Regions from separate parts of the Homo sapiens genome. Here all the other regions are linked to region 1. The links are contacts of gene promoters, found by promoter capture Hi-C in blood cells and fetal thymus (Javierre and others, 2016). All regions are on one chromosome and are shown on one strand. Each heading gives the region's core, a stretch centred on a gene start or on the middle of the fragment in contact. The rest is flanking DNA. Distances are from core to core; before and after follow the strand shown.

What was found. The method cuts DNA at HindIII sites, captures the fragments that hold promoters and counts their contacts. A CHiCAGO score of 5 or more calls a contact.
Region 2: a fragment that was not itself captured here is called in contact with the fragment with the promoter of GPR65 in region 1 in 1 of 17 cell types (monocytes); the score reaches 5.4 in monocytes.
Region 3: a fragment that was not itself captured here is called in contact with the fragment with the promoter of GPR65 in region 1 in 1 of 17 cell types (monocytes); the score reaches 9.1 in monocytes.

Annotation. Positions count from the first base shown.
Region 1 is chr14:88,002,668-88,007,623 of GRCh38, forward strand. It overlaps GPR65 (G protein-coupled receptor 65), which reads left to right and starts at 2,468. Exons shown (of 2, transcript NM_003608.4): 1 at 2,468-2,555. RefSeq lists enhancers at 2,883-3,052, 3,853-3,912. The HindIII fragment of the contact is 4,497 bases long and covers 54-4,550 here.
Region 2 is chr14:88,492,477-88,497,432 of GRCh38, forward strand. It overlaps PTPN21 (protein tyrosine phosphatase non-receptor type 21), which reads right to left. Exons shown (of 19, transcript NM_007039.4): 9 at 4,727-4,814; 10 at 3,937-4,016. Among named protein-coding and RNA genes, the nearest start is that of PTPN21, 60 kb to the right of the region's middle. RefSeq lists an enhancer at 1-156. The HindIII fragment of the contact is 7,054 bases long and covers 1-4,956 here.
Region 3 is chr14:88,302,522-88,307,477 of GRCh38, forward strand. The region is part of intron 1 of KCNK10 (potassium two pore domain channel subfamily K member 10); the gene reads right to left. Among named protein-coding and RNA genes, the nearest start is that of KCNK10, 18 kb to the right of the region's middle. The HindIII fragment of the contact is 206 bases long and covers 2,919-3,124 here.

The sequences.
Region 1 (4,956 bases), core at 1,218-3,717:
TAAACCCAACCCCCGCCAAGCAGGACAATCTTTTTCAGTTTTGGGGGCTGGGAAGCTTTACTTTATTTCAGCACATATTCTCCCAAGCATAGTGTCTGTGCCTCAGTCTTTTCCAAGGCCTTGAATTTTTGAAAGTCAAAACTCACATTGTCTTCTTTTTTTCCCCCCCGCTTGTGCCAGAAATTTCCTTGAGGCAATAAATGCAAAATGGCTCACTGATTGTGTAAGGGTAGGGCTAGAGTGAAAAGAAATGTGGCTGGGAAAATATAGCATTATTTCAAAATCTTACCCTGCCATATTTAGTTGCCGCTTTAGCTAGTGAAATTACACCTAGCAGATAGTGTGGCCTCACAAAGGACCCCTTCATCAGTAGAACACACTCTTGCACTGTCTGCCCAATGGAGAAGTTGGAACCAGGTAGATCCACAATCTCCTCCCCATTACCCCATGAGTAGCCCAACTGGCCAGTGTTGGGTCCCCAGATTGTGACCACAGAAAACCAAATAATTGACTGGTCAGAAATGCCAACCCCGTTAAGGCAGTGTTCTGAATAACTACTAATTGTCTTTATCTCATTGTTATGTTGTTAAAATGTCACAGTGACTCAATGATTTAAAATTTCTAACCGTTCATTATAAAAGATAGCCCTATAGTTGAAAATACAGTATTGCCATATTTTCCATATTAAGAAGCAAATTTCTTAAAAGCTGGTAAATTTCTTATTGTGTAGAGTTGGCAAGGTTTTAGCATAGGTCAGCTCCAGCTTTTTCTCCTCTTTAATCAGAAGTGAAAGTTTGTGTTTCTTATGTTTCTTAATGATAATCTTTTTCTTTTGAAAAGCAAAATACATGAATATTAGATATGGACATGAAAATACCCTTTCCCTAAAAGCAGAAGTATAGTCTATTCAGATAAAGTAAGAGATCATCAGAGTAATGAAATACCTACGTAACAATGCACTTGTACCCCGAACTTAAAAAAAGATATATCATGTATAGAAACCACAGATAAGCAGATGTACGAAACCAAGCAAAAATGAGAACTTTGAATTACAGTCACAAGTAAACTGAAATCGTTACTTTTCATTTTTGTAAAACTTCAAGACATTTATTGTTAATTTTTTACTTTATACTTAATTTTTATTATTTCAGTAACAATATATTGATTTATAATTTACTATATGCTAAATTACTTTATAAACTATCCTGTGCTTTATAAATGTAAGGTATTAGTTTTATTATTCTCAAAGAAAGACCTACAACGGAAGTATTGAAAATCTTTACATTCCTGATATACCCTGATCAACTTCAATATGGAAAGCCTTGCTTATATACAGGCTAATCTTTTCTATCTCTGGGTAGGGAGAAAAAAACAACAAAAAAAAAACACCAGCAACAACCCTTAATGTCCTTTAACAAACACAGATTCAAAATGTCCTGATTACATCTTTAAAATTAAGTCAAATGTTTTCATCCCAAATAAATTCTGTTCTTTCAAATAATATTTTCCCTTCATTTCTAATAAAAGTTTATGAGGGCAAGATTCAAAAGTGATATTTCTGACTTTTTTATATATCAATAGTAAGAAAGTTATAGGAGCTAATTTCACTTCATATTAAACCACTTATAGATTTGGCATTAACTTTAACTTGCTAAAGTACAAGAGTTTTTATAATAACAATGTAAGTCTTAAATAAAATTTTCAAGTTTCATAAAATTATTTGTCTCAGCTAGTTAATTCAACTGGTTTTTAGCCATCTCTGTTTCCAAGAGGAGAGAATCAAAGGAGAAAATAGTTCTACAATCAAATACTATATATCTAATCCCATTAGTCTCTCAAAAAAAAAAAGAAAAGAAAGACGGTATGAGGTTGGCTACCTTAACCCCTGCCTTAAGCAGCACAATATCCATCATTAAACCCCTCAGCCTCAATTCTCCCTTTTCTGTTTTTGTCCCAGGAACTTTATCACCCTGAATCTACCTACAATATCCTCCCCTATCTCACACATCCAAATGGTTCATTCTATTTTATCTGTACCCCTCTTGAAGTACTTCTTCATTTTGCCATTGCATTACAATCATTATTAAACATGTCTTTCTCCTTTACTAGGTAAAAAAAGCTGCTTTTGGTTGATAGCCAGTTCGTATACATCTCCCCGCACACTGCTGGCATGATGAGTGAATGAATGAATGAATGAATGAATGAACAAAGAAATAAATAAAATATTTAACATATATTCCATTAAGTAAAGGGCATATAATATAATATCAGTACATACTTGTAATTAAGATGCAATGAGACAAGTGAGTTATAAAAATTACAGTACAGTAAACAATAAATAAAAACATCTTTAAAAGTATTTAAGAGACTTTTTTTGTTCAAACTTGGATAACGCACACCCTTCTCATTGAGATGCTGCTTCCTCATTGGTTTGTGCTGAAATATGAGTGCAATTTCCTGTCCCCTCAGCAGTGTTGGTTTCTCTTCTTGACTTGATGCAGGCACAGATTTATCAAGCTCCTCAGTCAACAAACACATCACCGGAAGAAATATGGGTAAGTATAAGATTAAAAAATAAAATAATATTTTAAAGTAGATAACATGCTTTGGCATAATTGTCAGTGATGTTCGCAACATTCTTCCTGGTTTAGGCTGTATAAATGTGGTAATGCAAAGCATGATAAGAGAGAAAGAAATGAGGAAGACACATGGTTTCCTCTACTTTGAGCAGTGGTAAAGGGCCAAACTTTAAATTTAGAACTAATTAGGCAAAACCATAGATATAGAAAAAGGGGGTTGTTCATACTTTATTTTCTTTTCAGGAAACAGTGCTTTGGCAAACTTCATTCAGTATTAGGAAGAAGCCTACCAGCCCCTGGCTTTAGAGCTATCTGGCACCAATCCCTCATCTGTACAATGGTCCAGTAAATACTTTTTATATCCATCAGAAAAAAATGTGATATTAGGAAAGAATATTTCCAGTATTAATAAATGTCAAGTAATAATTATTAGTTAATAAGTGACTACCACAGTGCCTGAAATATATAGTAGAGTCTTAATAAGTAACTATTAAACTGATAGATGAAAGCAAGCATTTTCTATAACACTGTAGGAAAATATTGTACTTTTGGTCATCGTCATCAATGATTTGTACTATTTTTAGATCTGTTCAAGAATAGATATACTTTAATATACTGTAGATTGTCTTTTTTGACATCTGGTAAAAATTAAAAAATTAAAAACTCACCAAAATTTCTCAGTGCTTGTTCTAAAAACAATTTTCTCAAAATTTGATTAAAGGAGGCAAAATAATATCTGAAAAGATATGTGAATACTGTAATAGGAATTATATACAGTATTCCACTAAAATCTCAGATCCACCCAAATTAAATGAACAACTATTATCTGCAGAGCCTAGTATTATACGTGAAGTGTTACCATATAAATTACACTCTGAGCACCTCCAGCTTTTCTGCTATGCTGTGGCTAGATGACTAAAGATGATTTCTTTTCAGAAAATGTAGGGGACAGCACAAAGATTGGTGCAGACTACCAATGTCATTAAAACAATATTACCAGCTAACGTACAGTGAATGCCTCCCATGTGCTAGGAACTTTGCTTCATATGTCGTTTCATTTAACCCTCACAACAATCTTAGAAACTGGGTACTAACTTACACATGTGAAAACTGGAACTTAGAGAGGTGAAGAAACACCAATGGGCCCAGAGTGCTGTTGAGAGGCATTCGAATTGTCTCCAGAGCCCACGCTCTTAACCACAAGCCTGTACTGCCTCTGCGTCACTACAAAGAAGAGGGCCTCTGCTTCATCAACCCATCCTGTCTTGTGGTTAAGTCAAGGCAGGAAATGCTTTTACAGCTAGAGAAATGTATTCCATTGAAAACTTTATAAACCTTTCTAAAAATCATTTTTTCATTTAATCTGTCATACCATTTTTAAAGAAAATGATGACTATCTATTGAGTAACACGGACAAAGGAGGAAGAGGCACATGCTGCCCATTACCCGACTTTCTCGGTCCTGGTCTTAAGGGGAGGATGTTTTCATGGTTCAGGTGTTCTTCCCAAGACACATGAGCCTGGTGTTGGACGTGTTGTGTGTGCATCAGAGTCCCATCCGCGGGGGCTGATTCAATCTTCCTGCATCGCAGACATTACCCTAGTGTCCTTTTCCTACTTCAGTTATATCCTTTAGAAGTTTCTTTAGTGGGGATTTTGGATGTAAATGTTCTGAGTGGTAGTTTACCTGAAAATGTCCTAATTCTTGCTCTGGTCCTTGAAATTTAGTTCTGTTGAGTATATAATTATAGGATGACATATATTTTCTTAGCAATTTGGAACTTTTAATCTTCTGCTGTCTGTTATCGCTGTTGAGAAGTCTTTTGTCCGTCTAAATTCCATCCTTCATAGGTAGTCCATCTTTCCTCTCTGGCTCTTTTTTCCTTAGTCTTTGGTGAACTGCAATTTTATTGCAATGTGTCTAAGTATAGGTTTCCATTTTTGTGTTTTTAATCCTATTTGGGATTTTCTAAGCTTCATAAATCTGCAGATTTCATGAGGATTGAAGATGCATGAGGATTCTTCATCCATCCTCAAGATTCCTTCATCAGTTCTAGAAAGCTCATCATCTTTGTGAATATTGCCTTTTCAACATTCTCTCTTTTCGATCTTTATGGAATTCCAATTATGTATATGCCACCCTTTTCACCTTTTCTCCATATCTCTTATATTTTCCCATGTCCTTAACATGCTGATAATTTTGTGTTATTTCTTTATCTCTATCTTGCAATATACAAATTTTCTCTTCAGCTGGATCTAATCAGTTGGTTACTCCCTGTGTTTATTTTTAAATTTAAATTATTATTATTTTTATTTTTAGAAAGTCTTTTTCAATCTTTCTAAAAATATGGCTTGTCATTTTTTAATCTCTTCCTCCT
Region 2 (4,956 bases), core at 1,453-3,952, 490 kb after region 1:
ACGAAAATCCCATCACCAGACCAGCGATGGGGACTCGGATGCAAACATGGTGCAGGGGAAGGCAGAGAAGAGACAGGGACTGGGCCATACATGCAAACCACTGGCCAGCTCCCCGTCCGGGTGGGCATCCCCGCATGTTATCTTTACACTGCTGCTCCTGCCCAGAGTTTCTCTCACACCCTGCAAGACAGAAGGCACTTCCACAGCCTTTCTCCTTCCTTCCTGGTGCTAAGGGACAAAATGCCCTTGTTAGACTTTGCCTCCACCCCATGCCTCATTTACAATCTGTAATAAAAGGAAGAGACAAAGGAGCAAAAGTGCTCTTCTCCCCTGTGACTCCCATCACTGCCACACTCCGGCTCCCATTGTTCACTAAGCCCTTATGCACCGGGCACCTTGCCAGACAGGGGACACGAAGATGAGGAAGAGGAGACCCTGCCCTCATGGAGCTTCATCAAACAAGAGAGACAGATCAAATGAAAATGATCTGTCAGTTGATATCTGTCAATATGAAAAAAGCAGGCAGGAACTACTCTAACAGGCTAGCACAGCGGCTAAGAGCACAGGCTCGAGTCTTGCTGCTCCACTTACTAGTTGTGTGGCAGGGCAAGACATTTCACTTCTGTAAGTCTCCATACCTTCATCAATAATGGGATAGTAATAATTGTGCCCAACAGGGTTACTGTAAGGATTAAAGAAAATAAAAGCTCTCAGTATAATGCTTGACACAGAGCAAGCATTTACTAAATTATTGTTATGAATTATTCAGGTCATTGTTATAAAAGAGGTAGAAAAAACAACTTTCAGAGTGGTGTCAAGGACTAAGCAAACTGAATGTTTGGTGGTGTCTATGGGGGCTGTATTTTAAACTCAATCTTGAAGAATGACTAAGAGTCTGTCAGAGAAGGGAAGGAAGGGCATTTTAGCAAAGGCCTGGGCTGGGGGCATTCACATGATAAGGAAAGATGCCTTCCTGGAGTCAGACTCCAAGGCCAACTGGGCTGGGGCAGCTAAGTCCAGAGAAGGACCTCAGGAGTCTGCCCTTAATCCTGTACCCAGGACGGGGCGGGTGAGAGGCACATGCTCAGATTTGTTCCTGACATGTAACTTCAAGAGCAGTGCTACATATTTTGCTTATCTATCCAGAAGACTGACTGCATACAGATGAGATAGGGCGTGGGGGGCCAAGTGGGAGGGAGCTCCAGGAGGTGCCTCCAGACATGGACCAGGGACAAGAGGACAGCTTAAAGAAAGGTTGTGGGAATTGAGTGCAACATTTCGGGTCTCAGCTTAGATGTCACTTGGCTGGGTAGCCTTTCCTATCTTGGCAGTTCTGGGTGACGTACCATTTTCCTAAGGGATCTTACAGCACCAAGACATCTTGAATCAGAGCTCTTAACACCTGTATCTATAGATTAGCTGAACAAATTCATTAAGGCCGACAGTGAGCCAGGCCCTTGCTTGGCATGGGGAATATAGCACTGAAGGCAGGGAAGAGTGTCTGTCCTCAAGCACTGCTCTAGAGCTAACCTGCTGGCAGGGGATACAGGCAAACAAACAAACAAACAAATATAGAAATTCACATGGTGCTAAGTGCTATAAAGAACAAAACAAAGTTAGAGGGTAAAGAGACAGATCATAGTGGAAGGGGGGTACCATAGGACAATCAGGGACAGCCTCTGAAGAGGGTCATATCTGACCAGACAGCAGGCTGCAATGAGGGAGCAAGGCAGGTGGAGACCTGGGAAAAGAGCAAGGACAGCATCCCCTAGGGTGAGGCACATCTGCAGCCTAGCCAGGATACCACTGTGGCTGGAACAGAGCAAGCAGGGAGGAGGATAAAAGACATAAGGTTGAAACCAGGCAAGGACCACACTGTGTATGGCCTCGTACTTTTATTAGAAGTAAAATGGGGCCAGGCCTGGTGGCTCACACCTGTCCAGCCCTTTGAGAGGCCGGGGCAGGAGGATTCCTAAAGTCCAGAAGTTTGAGACCGGTGTGGGTAACATAAGGAGATCCTGCCTCTATAAAAAACACCAAAAAATTAACCAGGTACACACCTGTGGTACCAGCTACTCAGGAGGCTGAGGTGGGAGGATCACCTGAGCCCAGGGAGGTTGAGAGGCTGCTGTGAGCCATGATCATGCCACTGTACTCAGCCTGGGTGACAGAGCTGTCTCAAAAACAAACTAAAAAAATTACTTAAAAAAAGAAGTGGAATGCCAAAGGAGGGTTAAGAAGAGTGAAAGGATCTGGGCAGGGTGCGGTGGCTCACACCTGTAATCCCAGCACTTTGGGAGGCTGAGGCAGGTGGATCACGAGGTCAGGAGATCAAGACCATCCTGGCCAACATGGTGAAACCCCATCTCTACTAAAAATACAAAAAATTAGCTGGGCGTGGTGGCATGTGCCTGTAGTCCCAGCTACTCAAGAGGCTGAGGCAGGAGAATCACTTGAACCCGGGAGGCGGAGGTTGCAGTGAGCCAAGATCGTGCCACTGCACTCCAGCCTGGGTGACAGAGCGAGACTCTGTCTCCAAAAAAAAAAAAAAAAAAAAAAAAAAGAAGAGTGTCAGTGTCAGGATCTGATTCAGGTTAAACTAAGATCATTCTGGCTGACATATGGAAAATAAGCTACAGGCAGCGAAGGCACAGAAACAGGAAAGTCAGAAGGCTACCTCAGTATTCTGATGAGAAGTAGTGGCAGCCAGCACTAAGCTGTTAACACGAGTGGTAAAAATGGTCAGGTTTCATACCACATCCAATTCATCAGCAAGTTCTGCCAGCTCTACCTTCAGAATATACAGGCAGTAGTATATATTCACCACAACTTTCAGAGTGGTATTGAGGACTAAGCACACTAAATGCTTGCGGTAGGATGCAGGAGTCAAGAGCTCAAGGAGGGCCGGGCACGGTGGCTCACGCCTGTAATCCCAGCACTTTGGGAGGCCAAGGCAGGCAGATCACCTGAGGTTGGAAGTTCAAGACCAGCCTGAACAACATGGAGAAACCCTGTCTCTACTAAAAATACAAAATTAGTGGGGTGTGGTGGCGCATGCCTGTAATCCCAGCTACTCGGGAGGCTGAGGCAGGAGAATCACTTGAACCGGGGGCTCAGGGGGAGGACAGGTCAGGAGAAGCCCCCTAGACGAAAGGATTTGGAGAAAAGGCCTCAGGACCAAACCAGCAAAGGTGACTGAGAAGAAACAGCCTAGAAAGAGGAAGCCGAGCAGGGGGTGGTGTCCTGGCAGCCGAAGAAGAGCAGGATTCCAGAAGGATGGAAGGAGCTGTCGGAGGATCAGTACTGCGGAGCGGTCAAGTGAGAGAACTCATGAAATGATCACTGGACGAAAGTCACCTGACCACAACAAGCAGCATCAGTAACGTGGAGGCTTAGGGAAAATGGGATGGAAGGAAGGAAACATACAAGCATACACAACTCTCTTGAGGAAACCTGCTATTCAGGAAAGCAGAGATATGGTGCAGAGGCTGGAGGGGAGTATAGATGAAGGACAATATTTTATATGTGCAATATCACCGTGTGCTTTATTGATCTGGCAAACAGTAAGAAACCCATGTGGGCTAAGAAAAATGCACACCAGGAAGGAGGGGCAAAAATTCTTCAGATAGCTGGAAAAGCTGAATAATCTTTAATGACTCAAAATGCTTACCAGAGGATTGATTTAAACAAATAAAGGATATTATTCCCTTTTTACCTTTCAAGAATTACAATGGTTCTTGTAACTAGTTGAAATAAATCTTAGAGGCATACAATGTAGTTATTACAAGTTGGTCCAAAGCTAAAATAGGAAAACAGCTATAGGATCAAGAAAAGATGTCAACTGATAAAATGTCTTTCTTGATGATACAGTATACTCAAGATTACAATTTCTAAATTCATTATTTTTGATAATTTCCATGAGCAGGACATACTTACAGGTTACACTGGTTTAGTCTGTAAAACTTGTGTCGCGCAACACAGAGTCTCCAAATGTATTTTGCTGTTTCCATGTCTTCCTAGCAAACAAAATAGGCATAAAGCAATATGAAAGCACACATACAACTTGATACGTTTAATGCAGAGTTTGTCTAAAGACATAATGGGTGACATCATATGACAAAGTCACTTTCAGAACACTATAAGCCTTTCATTTTCCAACACTGTGCCCATGGTATGAATACCACAAGTAGGATTTAATTTATGAAGACAAAACAATCTGTTCTAACAGTGTGATTCTCATATTAAACAGTTTCAAAATGACTTGGGAATCTAAAAACTATAAAAATACCAACTTTTATTCTTGCCAAATATACTCAAAGACATTTTTAAACAAAAATATGACTCAGTAACTCAATATTGCCTTTGTCAAGAGAGCAAAAGCAAGTAACTGTTAAATAACATTTCTTCAGAGCTATTCATTTATCAATGAAATTTAAGATATCAGTGCTTACTTTCTCCCCCACATAATCCCTGAAGTTTAATTTAAAGGTTATCATGATCAGACAGTAGTTATCCAAAGACTCATTCACTCAGCATTTACTGAGCAGCCATTTTTTGCTAACTGCCATTTTGCAAAATGCTATATGATAAAACTGCATGTTTTATACAATTACAAAATATTATCATTTTAATGCTGCCCTGCCTCCAAACACATACAGGCACGCAGAAGTAGAACTTGTTAACTTTTAGGAAAAACATTCCATGCAGACCCCTAATGTTTACTCACAGTTTGAAATTGAATGGTCTCCTCTTTATTTGCCAGCTCTAATGCAAAAAAGGACTTGTTGTGGGACATGTTGGCAATGTCATGCCACCTAAAGAACAGCAAATAGAGAACTGGCAATGTGAGTGCCCATGGGGGAAACAAGGAGATAGAATACACAAGTTTTCCCTAAGCCTGACGTGTAAGTTAGCATTTGGTAACATTTTTGAGAAAAACAAAAAACAAAAAACACG
Region 3 (4,956 bases), core at 1,772-4,271, 300 kb after region 1:
CAACATGGTGAAACCCTGTCTCTACTAAAAATACAAAAATTAGCTAGGTGTGGTGGCACATGCCTGTTATCCCAGCTACTTGGGAGGCTGAGGCAGGAAAATCGCTTGAACCCGGGAGGCAGAGGTTGCAGTGAATTGAGATCGTGCCACTGCACTCCAGCCTGGGCAACAGAGAGAGATTTTGTCTCAAATAAATAAAAAAATAAATAAATAAATAAAACCCAGAGGAAATGATGTCACAAAGCATGTGATGGAAATGAAGTGCTTCAAGAAGGATGGGGTGGCTGGCTGTCAAAATTGCTAGGAAGGGTCAGGGAAAATGTGGCAGACACTGCCTGGCACTTTCACCTTAGGCGCTCCCCCTTCCTTTAACAGATCCAATTTTGGTTAAATGACAACATTTCAAAGAAGATGCGTCCCATTCACAGACTCAGGGGATGAATCTTAATTGGTCCAAGCCAATAAGGATAATACCATCCCCCTTTGCCAGGGATGAGTTTAGGGGGTGATATTTAAGAAATGTGCATGGGGCTTGCAGGGCAAAAAAAACATCCTCCATGATAAAAAGAAAAACACAGAGGCTACTTCACTCCCTTCCCTGCTTTTAGACGACATAATATCTGCTGATGTGATCAAGAGAGGCAGGGCAGGAAACTGAAGTCTGGGTCCTTGAAGGTGTTATGAAACACCCAAGCCAAGCCTGGAACATCCTTGTTCAGTGAGAACGTAACTCTCTTAACAGTCAATGTCCGTATTGTGTAAGTCACTTGTATCAGGACATTCTGCAACAGGCAGCTGAAAGCATCCTAACTGGTACTTAAGATAAAAGGACAGAAAGGTGATGCAATGTCCATAAGTGGCCTCCAAAGGAGCAGCCCCCATAAAGTGGTGGTGGCTTGGAAAGAATGTGAGGGGAGGAAGTAGTGATGGTGACTTCAGACCACCCTTTCCAGCAATTTTGCTGTGAAAGGCCTAAAGGAATGAGGGGTGGCTGGCGGCAATGCGGGATCAAGGGGGATGACACGGAAGCCCATGTATACGCTAGTAGGAATATTCAAGTAGAGAGGGAGAGATCAATTCCCCAGGAGAAGAGAGGATGCCCCAAAGAGCAAAGGAGTCCCCAGCATAAGCAGAAGGGACGGCCTTAGGTAGGAAAAGACGCCCTTCATCTAGAGAGGAATCAAGGTGGGACTGGTGGGTGCAGATGCAGGTAACCTAGAAGACTTGATCTGGGGAAATGAAGTTGTTTCGACCAATTGCTTCTTTTTTTTATCAATGATGTATGAGGTGTTCAAAATGTAAAATGTTTCTCAAGACCTATCTAAAAAAACTCCCTCCAATGTGAAGTCCTTCCTGAATCGCACACTCAAGTCCCTCCTTCACGCTTTCACAGAACTCTCTTCTGGAGTAGGTATTCTGTCTTGTGTCATAATTTGAGTTCCTTGTGCCACCAGAATGGACGCTCTTTAATGACAGGGACCATCTCATTAGCATCTCAATAGCAATCAAAAAGCCTGGAACACACGTTTAATAAATATACTAAATTGTACTTTGGGAGAGTGAGAAGGGGGATGGCTTGAAAACAGGAGTTGGAGACCAGCCTGGGCAACATAGGGAGGCCGTCTCCACAAAAAAATAAATAAATTAGCCAGGTGTGGTGGCATGTTCCTGTAGTCCTAGCTATTTGGGAGGCTGGGGCGGGAGGATCACTTGAGCCCAGGAGTTTGAGGCTGCAGTGAGCTAGGATCACACCACTGCACTCCAGCCTGGGTGACAGAGCAAGACCCTATCTCTCAAAAACAAAATAAAATGAAATAAAAATACTGAATTGAAGTAGAGTCTTATTGTAATGAAGTAAGAAAGACAACTGACCCTCATTATTCACTGAATATATATTTGCAAATTCTTCTACGTGTTAAAATTTATTTGTAACCCCGAAATCAAATCAATATTCATGGTGTTCTGCAGTCATTCGCAGTCATGCACACAGCAGTGAAAAAAGTTTGAGTCACCCGATGCACATGTCCTCAGCTGAGGTTGAACAAGGCAGCGCTCTGCCTTCTTGTTCGAGCGCTCATGCTGTAAGCTAGTGTCCATTCTGTGATCTATTTAGTGCCATGTTTTTCACATTTTGTGCTTTTTTGTTAGTGTTTGCACTGTTTAAAATCACCCCCAAGTGCAATGCTGAAGTGCTATCCAGTGTTCCTAAGTGCAAGATGCGAGGTGCCTTATGGAGAAAATATGTGTGTTAGATAACTTTGTTCAGAAATGAGTCACAGTGCTGTGGCTGTGAGTTCAATGCTAACAAATCAACAGTATATATGAAATAAGATGTCTTTAAACAGAAACACACATACAACAAGGTTATGTATTTAGTTGATGAAAATGTGACCTGACCAGGTGTGATGGCTCATGCCTATAATCCTAGCACTTTGGGAGGCCGAGGCAGGCAGATCACCTGACGTCAGGAGTTTGAGACAAGCCTGGCCAATGTGGTGAAACCCCACCTCTACCAAAAAATACAAAAGTTAGCCGGATATGGTGGTGCATGCCTGTAGTCCCAGCTACTCGGTAGGCTGAAGTGGGAGAATCGCTTGAACCTGGGATGTGGAGGTTGCAGTGAGCCAAGATCGCGCCACTGCACTCCCACCTGGGTGATAGAACAAGACCCTAAGCTCGAAAAAAAAAAGAAGAAGAAGAAGAAGAAAATGTTGTGACTAGAGGCTCACAGGAACCTAACCGTATATTTCCCCTAAAAGCAACGGTTCACTATTTGCTAATTCAGGATTTACAGCAACTTTATAAAACACAAGAATTACCATAAATGATGAGAATCAACTGTACTTGATTCTGCCCTTTTCTGAGAAGGAAAATTATGGAAACAAAATAGTTTGATGAGACTGGAACATGCCTCATCAAGCTTCACCCTCTCTTTTCATGCTGCATGGATCACTCACCAGCACCAGGGTTTGTTCTGAAGATATCTTGGGGAGAAAACTGCCAATCAGCTGTGGATTGTGTCTCCTGAGAGCCATTAGCCTGCCTGAGAGGTTGAGCATCCCCTCACTCCCACCATCAAAGCTAACTGATTGGGGCAAAAGGCAGAAAGGCAAGAAAAGAGGGAAGCTTTACCATATGTCTTCATTTGGGTTTCCCCAGAAGCTGATCCTACAATTACAATTTGAGCACAAGTGGTTTGTTTGGGAAGTGAAGAAATCGCCAGTAGGGAATTAGAGAAAAGAGAAAGGGCTGGGAAGGCAGCCAAGAAAACCAATAAAAGGTGAAGTTTCTAACTAGCTACTGCTGTCGCCCAGTGGAATTTTTCCTACAGAGGAAACTGGGACCCCATGTAAACCATATTCCTGAGTTACCCTACCCAAGGCTGAGGGAATTGGGGTGTTTACGCACCATCTTCCATCAGTTATTGGTTGAGGGCTCCTCCTGGGGTCCACTAATTCCCCAACACTTCCTGCCTTCCATGGGAGCAGCAAAGTAGGCTCAGTCAAGAAAAAGGCAAAAAAAATGCCAAGTTGGCAGTCAGAAGTGAGCCAGCATGAGCTGAAGTGGTGCGAGCAGGAGGATAGGGACAGGCACTGGAACATCTGCTACATCAGACTGGGCTGCTGCTGAAAGTCTTACATAAACCCAGAGCAGGAATGGGGCCACTTCCATGAAATCCATGGTAGACGAAATTCCTATACAACAAGCACATAACCACTACCGGAGGCCTAAATTGTTCATGTACTTTCAGCTAATTATCTGATTCAGGGGCCAATTTCCACTAGTTTTAAGTCAAAGTAAGGTTTCATGGTGTTTATATAGGTTATTTTCCTCCTTCTTTGGTAGAAGCAAGATGGAAATCTCATTTGCATTTTAATGATAAAATGGGACCTTTTCCCTAGAATAGCATGTGAGAGAACAGAGCAGGACAAAAGTAATTTTGGGGAAATGTGGGGGAAGATTTGTACTTCATAGGATGTGCTCTGTCATCATGATAGCTCATTCCCTGATGATCAAGTGAAGACACACATCCCTGCCCAAGAGCCTGCTGGTACCACGCCTTTTCCTTCCATGAATACCTGTCCCCATCATCCCCACTGCTATCACAGCAACTGAGGAAGGGATACACCATCTCATGTCTCCAGAAAAGCACTGGGGCTGGGGGAGGGGGCATGGGGTAGGAGGGGAGCCAACTAAGACACCATAGTGTTTCATTACAATCTATTATTGAAGACAACACAAGAAGGATGACATTTCCTCCATCATATTGAGTGACTGGTTGCTGGGTTTCCAACCCAGAAAGTATATCTCTCCTATCACTTTCATTTCTGTAACTTTCCAAGTTCATATCATAACCCTTAGGAAATGGACAAAAGAATTAGACTGGTCAACACTATGTGAGTATACAGACATGAAACCATATCCCCCTCAAGGTAGATGGAAAATATCAGAGTTCTTGCAACCACAGCAATTCCTCAGGATGTCCACACCCAGTGGGACACACCCATCTCTATAGAAATGGTGTTCAGCATGATGCAGAGGTCCAACCAGAGACCAGTGAGTGGATGAGAAGGCCAAGGTCTTGCCTTGGAGCCAAGATGGACCTGAGCACAAATCCCAGCTCAAGCGCTTTCAAGATGGGTGGCCATGAGCAAATTACATACACACTCTCAGCCTCAGTTTCCTCATCTTCCAAATGGACTAATACAACTGTCTCAGATGACTGTCTTCATTCTTCATTCAAAATAGGTATGGATGCCACATGAGTGAACCTTGAAAGCATTATGTTACGTGAAAGAAGCTGATCACACACACACACACACACACACACACACAAATATCTACCTGTTGTATGATGCCATTTACATGAAATGCCCAAAATAGGCAACTCCATAGAGACAGAAAGTAAATTCATGCTTGCCAGGGACTGGGAGAGATAAAATGGGGAGTGACTGC